Linked DNA regions of Homo sapiens: region 1 is linked to region 2. The links are contacts of gene promoters, found by promoter capture Hi-C in human tissues and cell types (Jung and others, 2019). All regions are on one chromosome and are shown on one strand. Each heading gives the region's core, a stretch centred on a gene start or on the middle of the fragment in contact. The rest is flanking DNA. Distances are from core to core; before and after follow the strand shown.

What was found. The method cuts DNA at HindIII sites, captures the fragments that hold promoters and counts their contacts. A contact is called where the count stands out against the background at its distance.
Region 1: a contact is called between a fragment that was not itself captured here and the fragment with the promoter of FGF19 in region 2, in 2 of the 25 tissues and cell types used here (aorta and bladder).

What each region holds. Positions count from the first base shown.
Region 1 is chr11:69,863,986-69,867,866 of GRCh38, forward strand. No RefSeq gene overlaps it. Among named protein-coding and RNA genes, the nearest start is that of FGF3, 47 kb to the left of the region's middle. RefSeq lists enhancers at 772-1,329, 1,330-1,887, 1,888-2,445. The HindIII fragment of the contact is 4,926 bases long and covers 31-3,881 here.
Region 2 is chr11:69,701,646-69,705,409 of GRCh38, forward strand. FGF19 (fibroblast growth factor 19) reads right to left here and starts at 2,377. Exons shown (of 3, transcript NM_005117.3): 1 at 2,000-2,377; 2 at 1,616-1,719. The coding sequence starts at 2,231. RefSeq lists a promoter at 2,450-3,764. The HindIII fragment of the contact is 36,944 bases long and covers 1-3,764 here.

The sequences.
Region 1 (3,881 bases), core at 1,244-3,743, 160 kb after region 2:
TTCCATCCTGGCTCCCTCCGGCTTCCAGGCCCTCACTGCGGCTTTGGACCTGGGTTCACAGGGCAGGTGGGTGCAGAGGGCCTCCCGCCACCTGCAGAGCCACAAGTAGCCGCACACGGCCGGGGCCTCAAGTGTCCACCTTGATTTAGGTCAATGCTGCCTTCTTTCCCCCACCCCTCCTTTCATCCCACCACCCCCTTAAATGGTGGGCCAGGCTATGGTGCCCTGGAGGCCACTGTTCCTTTTGCTCCAAGTTTTCAGCTCTGTGGGCTGTGGGGCAGGTGACTCAGGCCAAGCAGATGCGTTGCATCCTGCTGGGAAAACTCGATTTTGTAGACATTTGCCAGGATTGCCACTGAACATTTGGGGGGGTGGGGTGGGTGCAGTGGGGGACAGAAATGGCAGGAGTAGGGGCCGTGCAGTGGCCAGGCTGTGGGGGAGGAAAGGCAGGGAGCACGGTGGCCTCTGCCACCTCTAGGAATGGGCAGAGAGCCCCAGGGAGGCCCCTTTGACCTGCAGTGTGACCTCGGGAAGGCCCCTCCGCATCTCTGGTCTTGGGTGAAATCATTGAAAATACAAGGAAATAGAGAGAAGGCCATGCTAGGTGCGTTCTGAGGGCTGGAGGTGCCGTGGGACCCATCCACGTGGTCTCTCCTTCCCTGAGCTCACACCACAGGGAGGGAGGGAACCAGTGCCCAGTCTGGTTTCTGGGGAGGGGAGAAGCGAGAGGAAGAAAGTAAAGCAGAGGTGAGCAGGAGGCAGCTGGAGCAGCGTAGGAGGGGGACGTGGAAGCAGCGTTAGGGCGGGAGGGTGACCTCTGAGCAGAGGGTGGAGAAGAGCCCAGCCATGCCCGGGAGTGGGGATGCAGGAGAGACTGTAGGCAGAGGCAGCTGCTGGAGGTGAAGCCCAGGGCTGGCTGGGCACCTTCCCATGGTGGAGACCGAGCTCGTGCCCAGCACAGAATGGTGGATGGGGTGATGGGGGGAGGCTCAGCCAGGAGGGTCCCTGGGACTGCAGAGGCAGCCGCTGGGGCATGGATGTGAGTGGGTGGCGGGTGCACAGGGACTGAAAAGAGCCTGGCCTTTGGGGGTCAGAGCCCCGGGTTGGCATCCGTTTCCTCTCTCACTGGGGTGGAGATACTGGCAAGGACGGGGTGATGGCCTGAGCTCTGGACATCAGGAGCAAGGTGCTGTCAGCCCAGAGAGGGGTGGCTTCCTACTCACGGTCACACAGCCGGTGAGTCACAAAGCTGGGTTCTCAGCCCCTCTCTTTGGCTTGGGCCCAGTCATGAGACAGCTGTGGGAGCCCCGCATACAACAGGCTCCCGTGGAGGGAGAACCCAAGGCACCCGACAAGGTGGGCGTATTGAAGAGAAGAAACCAGGGGCCAGAACCGACTCAAGCCTCCGTCCTGAGAGCAGCACCCTGGAGTGGAATCCCACGGGCCTGCAAGAGACAAGCCGGGCCGTGCTTCCTGCCAGCACCTGGCCTGCTGCAGCCCACCTTTCTGTCCACCTGCGGGGCTCGACTCCACCACAGCCACCTCCTCCAGGAAGTCTGCCCAGATCCCCCCTCCCCTGCTGGTGTCCCAGTAAGCTCCTGCTGTTTACCTGCCCATCTCCCCTGCTGGCCCACAACTCTCGGTGTTTTATCTCCATTTCCCTTTGGCTGCACCCAGGAGATGTGACTTCGAACTAAGTAAGTGGATGTGTGGAAGGCGGGGGTGTCACAAAAGGGCTCACCCCAGGATCCCTGAGGTCAACCCTGACCCCCTGATTCTTATGTTTACCATGAGAACTGACCCCTGAAAACTCTATTTCCTAGACATTTGCCAGGACTGCCACTGAGCATGCAATGGCGGGTGGGGGCGGAGGTGCAGCAGGAGAAATGGCAGGAGTAGGGGCTTGCAGTGGCCAGGCTGTGGGGGAGGAAAAGCATGGAGCACGGTGGCCTCTGGCACCTCTGGGAACAGGCAATGCCCCAGGGAGGCCCCTCACCCCATGCTCACAATTCCATCTGCAGCTCAAAGGCTCAACGCATCATGTGATCACAAGCTTGACCTCCTCCTCTTTGTGCCTCAGTTTCTCCATCTGGAAAAACGGGTAGCTTTTGCCAGTCTTTCCGAGCTTCAGAATTCCAAGGGCAGAATTTCAGAAAGATGGCCACCAGAGGCTCCTTGGGGCCTACATATGTCCTTGTGCTTCTTTAGCTTAACATTCTGACAGTTCTCAAACTCCTCTGCTCACTTAAAGGGCCTTTCTGGAGTGTGTCGTGGTCTATCAGCTTTTTTCCACCCTTAGTGGAGTATAAAATAATGTTGTATCTTACAACAATTGGTGATACCTTATATTCTATAAAATATGGTGATGCCAACCGTTTCCCATTTCTAATAGTGCCTTATCTTCATTTAATCCTAGCAACAACCCCAGGAGGTAGTTACTATTATTATCCCATTTTACAGAGAAGGATAAGAGAAGTCAACGCCTCACCTAAGGCCACACAGCAATTTACCCACGGAGACTGGACAGTGTCAGACAGCCTGGGCAAGGTGCTGGGGCAGCCTCCTGGGATGTCGAGGTTTTCACAGGGCCTTAATGAATGGTGCAGTTTCTGGTGGAAAGACATTTGCTCCCTGTGACATTCTGGACAGAAGCGTGGCTTAGCAACAGTGCAGAGGCAGGACAAGGGAGACATTTAGGAGCCAGGGAGGCTCTCGGTGGGCTGAAGCTTAAACGGAATGTCTGGAGTTTTGATCATCAGGGGTGTTAGGCCCAGATTGTACAGGGCTTTGAATCCCTGTGCAAGAAAGAGGTCCTTTGGGAGGCAATAGGGAGCCATTGAAGGCTTTAGAGTAGGAGCATTGCAAGGCTGGAGCAATGTCTGCATAGCCTCTATGCATTCAGCCTAAAACCAAGCTCCTTTGGCCGGCATGCAAGGCCTGCTACAACCAGGCCTTTGTCAGTCACCCCACCAGTGCCCTCCACCCCATGCCTTCCCCCACACACTGCTTTAGCCACACTGACACTTTCTCTGTTCCTGAGCTGACAAATGTGTTCTTCCCACAGGTCTCCCCAGGCTCAATGTCCCTCGCCTTCGCCTCCCACCATCGCCCAGCTTCACTGTCTTTAACACACCGACCACAATCCGAAACCATCCTGTTGTCTGTGTCGTCATTACCTGCCTCTCACCAAGCACAGATTCACTCAGGATGGGGCTATCCTGTTCACCAGTCTATGCACAGCGCATGCCACAGAGAGGGCTTTGAAATGAGTCAATCAATCAACGGATGGGCTTATTCCTCCCACAGGGCATGTGTGTGTCTATTTTATGATCACGTGGGTAGCAGCTGGCTGCGAAGGGGATGAGCTTGGACATCCCACCACCGTTTTCTTCCCTCTGCTTGTTCCTGCTGCCACAGCCCATGGGGTCAGATGATCAGGTGTGGTCCTAGCCAGGTCCCGAGCGTGTCTGAGTAACAGGGAGCGAGGAATAGATCAACACAGGCTTAGCCACAGGCGGCTGTACCAGGCATTCACGTTCGGCCCCCTTCCCCATTCTGATGCTCCATCAGCATTTCCATGGCAGGGAAGCAGAGGCTGAGAGGAGATGTTTCCTGAGCTTTTCTAAGCACTGAGCACGGGCTGAGGCCTTGCCCTGTGTAACACTTTGGCCTTTTCCGTGGTTCCTCGCAACAGCCTTGTGCTGCAGCAGTGGCTGGTGGTTTCATGAGTTCCATTTATCGGATGAGACTCAGCGAGACCTCAAGGCTTGTCCTCAGCCGCCAGGCCAGGGACTCAGCTGGATGGCATCCGGGCCAGTGACTCCCACTGGCTCTTTGCCCGGGCCCCACTGCTCCAGCTGCCCCATGCGTGACCTGGTCCC
Region 2 (3,764 bases), core at 1,127-3,626:
TAGACCATGCACAGGGGATCAAGAGGCACAAAGGGGGCTGGGCGCGGTGGCTCACACCTCTAATCCCAAAGCACTTTGGGAGGCCGAGACGGCCGGATCACTTGAGGTCGGGAGTTCAAGACCAGCCTGGCCACCAACATGGTGAAACCCCATCTCTACCCAAAATACAAAAGGTAGCTGGGCTTGGTGGTGGGTACCTGTAATCCCAGCTCCATGGGAGGCTGAGGTAGCAGAAACGCTTGAACCTGGGAGGCACAGGTTGCAGTGAGCCGAGATCTGGCCACTGCATTCCAGCCTGGGCGACAGAGCAAGACTCTGCCAAAAAAAAAAAAAAAAAAAAAAAAAAAAGGCACAGAGGGATTTCAGGTGACCCAACCCCCAATTTGGGCAGAATGGCGGGTTAGGTTGACGTCCCCTGCTGGCCTCCCATCATTAGGAACCCCCACACCCCCTGCCATAGTAAATGTCAAAATTAAAGTTGCAAGGGTGGGTTTGGAGCGGCTCTGGGTGGGAGTCAGCGTCCAGCGTGCCGACCACCCCCTTTCTCTGCAGTCCTCTCACGCAGGACTCCGCCATAAAACCTGAAACAGGCGCTCCGAGTACACGGAGCACGGCAGAGGCACCGAGCAATTTTGAGACTCTAAAATGCTTTGTCCCGCTGTTCACAAAGGAGCTGGTTGGGCCGGAGGCGGCCCCGCCTCTGCATCCTTTCTGGGGTGGGGGCCCCGGGCAGGCGCGGCCACCCCCGCCCTGGCCCCTGCTCCGCCAGGGAGTCCGGGGCTGCGTGTGAGGCCTGCGCGGGCCGAGACCTCACACAGCCTCCTCTGCGCGCGGGGCCGCGGGAGGGGCGCGGGTTCGTTCCTTTGAACTCCCAGCCTTTGTTCCCGGCCACCAGAGCCCCAGCGCTCGTACACTTCCGGCCCCGGGACCTCTGCGGTTACCTGGGCCTTCCCTGCCAGCCCCCACCCCCTGCCCCCACCAGAAAGCGTTTACAGGACAGGTGAGGCCCGCAGGAGGAAAAGCACTCCCCTGGCGCAACATGACTCCAGCGCATCTGCGTCTAAGCCACACCGTGCTCCTGGTAGATTAAAAATTAATTCTAAAAAAAAAATCTCTCCTATCCCAAATGCACTGTTTTCTGCCTTGCTTGACAATTGATTTGTTTTTAAAGGAAAGTTATGGGTAGATCCTCTTTTTTCTTTCCCATTCTTTTTTTCTTCTTTTATACTGGAGGGAGGGAAACGGAGGCGAGGACCACACACGCGCAGGCAGAGGCTGAAAAGGCCCGAGGTGGGTTTTCCTGTTTAATATCAAAGGAGGCCGAATAATGGGTTTCCTCGGTCCGGCTAGGCCGGCCTTTGACTCAATTGGAAATGCAAAGGCAGCTTTTGCCTATTCTCTGGCTGCTGGCTGAGACCCTAAATTTCCGTAGGAAATCGTCGGACATGCACTTAATCGGTCTTTGCAATCTTTCCCTCGAAGTTGCACGCGGGTCTGGGCGGAGGAGGCGAGGAAACCCTGGATTCGAACCAGCGCCTTTCTCTCCTTCAGGCCTCCGCCCGGGGACAGGCGCCGGTCCCCCGCCCCGGCGCATCCGCCCCGTGGGGACACTTACCAGCCCCTGCATCTTGCCGTCGGCGCCCATGCAGAGGTACCGCACGCTGTGCACGCCCTTGATGGCCACGGTCCGCAGAGCGACTGCCTTGATCTCCAGCAAACCTAGGCGCAGGGGAAGCGAGAAGCTGCAGCAAGGACCGCTGGGCCCGCACCACGTGGGTGCGGTCGGTCCACAAGCCTGTGCTTCTCCCTAGCGTCCCGCGCTGTTTGGGGACTAACGGAGGGATCCTAACGTCCAGGTGCCAAAACCTGGGGTTCCCAGGAGTTGAGGGGTCCGCAGGAGCCTAAGGGTGGCAAAGGAAGGAAGGGCGCTGGGGTGGGGCGCGCGCAGCGGGGTGGGGTGCGCGCGGCGGGGCGGGCGGGGGTGCTGGCGGGCACTCACTGTGCGCGCTCTGGCCCCGCGCGCAGTCCACGACGCCGTCGGCACGGATGCGCAGGAAGCAGCTGGAGAGCCCGTGGGGGCCGGAGGTGTACAGGTGCCGCAGGCGGATGGGGTCGCCCCAGCCGTAGTGCACGTGGGGCCCCGCGTCCGAGAAGGCGAGGGGGCGCCCGGCCACGGCCAGCCAGAGGCCGGCCAGGATCCATACGTGGACCACCACACACCCGCTCCGCATGGCACCTCCCTGGGGCTCTCGGCGCAGCTCCGGCGATGGGGGTGCGGGAGGCTGGGCGGCGACCGGGATGCGCTGCGGGGCTGTGAGTGCCGGGTTGGGATGGTCGTGGCCCTAGATCCTGGACGCAGCGCTCCTGCTCTGACGGCGCGGCGGCTCCGGGCCGGCAGCCTTATATAGTAGCGCCTTACGGGCCCCACGGGTAGGTGCCCAAGACACCCGAGCATTTCTTATCGGGATTGCATCAAGCCTCCGCCCCCCGCACACACCCACTCACACCCCGCCTCCGGCCCCAGCCCCAGCCCCCTCCCCGGGCCCGGGCAGGCAGGCGGCGGCTTCTTGTCCCAGCCGGGGTGACCCCGCCCAGGCCGTTCGGATCTGCGGGAGGAGGAGGCCTCGCTTAGCGGCCGGGTTTCGGGGAACTCCTCCCCACCGCGCAGCGGCCCCGAGGTTCTTGGCTGGGAGAGTTTGACTTTGTAAAGCAATCGACAACTGGGGCCCTTCCCCCAGGCCTCAGGCTCCCAGTGGATGCACTCGGCGTGGGGCACTAGCGGGGGCGGGGTCAGGAACCCCGGGGCCAGAGGTTGGGGGGCACCGAGTTTTGCCCCCTTCACCCTCTGTCGGGAAAAGCCTCACCTCGGCCTTAGTGCCCTTCCCCTTAAAAGCCCACTCGCACTCCCTCCCCCGACTTTCGCAGCCCCGCACATCTGACGTCAAAGCCGTCCCGTAGAATTTTCCCCGGCAGTTCCGACAGTCTCAGGTTCTTTCAGCTTCATCTTCTTGCAATTCCTGCCCCGCCCCTTTTATCCGGGTAAATTGCCCCCCGACGGGGGGCCGGGCGCGCTCTCGGCCGGCGGGGAAACAATGGAAGCCGCGCGGACTGTAGGTGGCGCCGCAGCCTCGGCGTCCGCCTGGGCTTTGCGCTCCTGGCCCCGCGCCCCTGCCTGCTCCGCGCTCGCCCCGGCCCCGCGGCTGTGCGCGAGATGCAACCTGAAAGGGGGCACTGGGAAGGAGGCTCTCGGGCAGGGTGGGCGGGCCAGCTGCGGGATTGGTGAACCCCAGCTTCTCGGCTGGAGGGTGGTGGAGGCAGGGGCGCAGGGAGGGAGGCCTGGGCCTCCGTTTCCCGTTTTTTGAGCTGTCTTGTGTCGGGGGTCTGGTTTTTGAGTCCCCGAGTCCCTGCGCACGGGGTCAGGAGGAACAGCACGGTCGGGGAGGTCGAGAGCGCCTTACCTGGTGGGGAGGGGTCGGGAAGGGGCCCAGGAACGGTGATGGGCGCCCCTGGCGTCCGGGCAGGTGCCAGGTGAGGAAAGAAATGGGGGCCGCTCCATGAAGCGGTTCCTGCCAATAAAGAAAACGACATCCAGAGAATACCCAGGCGGGGAATAAAGGGGTCCTCCTACGGGGCTTTGGTTTAACTCTAATTATTTCTTGTTATTCTTCCAAACCCCCAGCTCCTGGATGTGGGGCCCCAGGAGGCTGGTTTTGGGGGCAGAGCCCTCCTGGCCCAGCGCAAAGGCGATGGGGAGGGCAAACAGG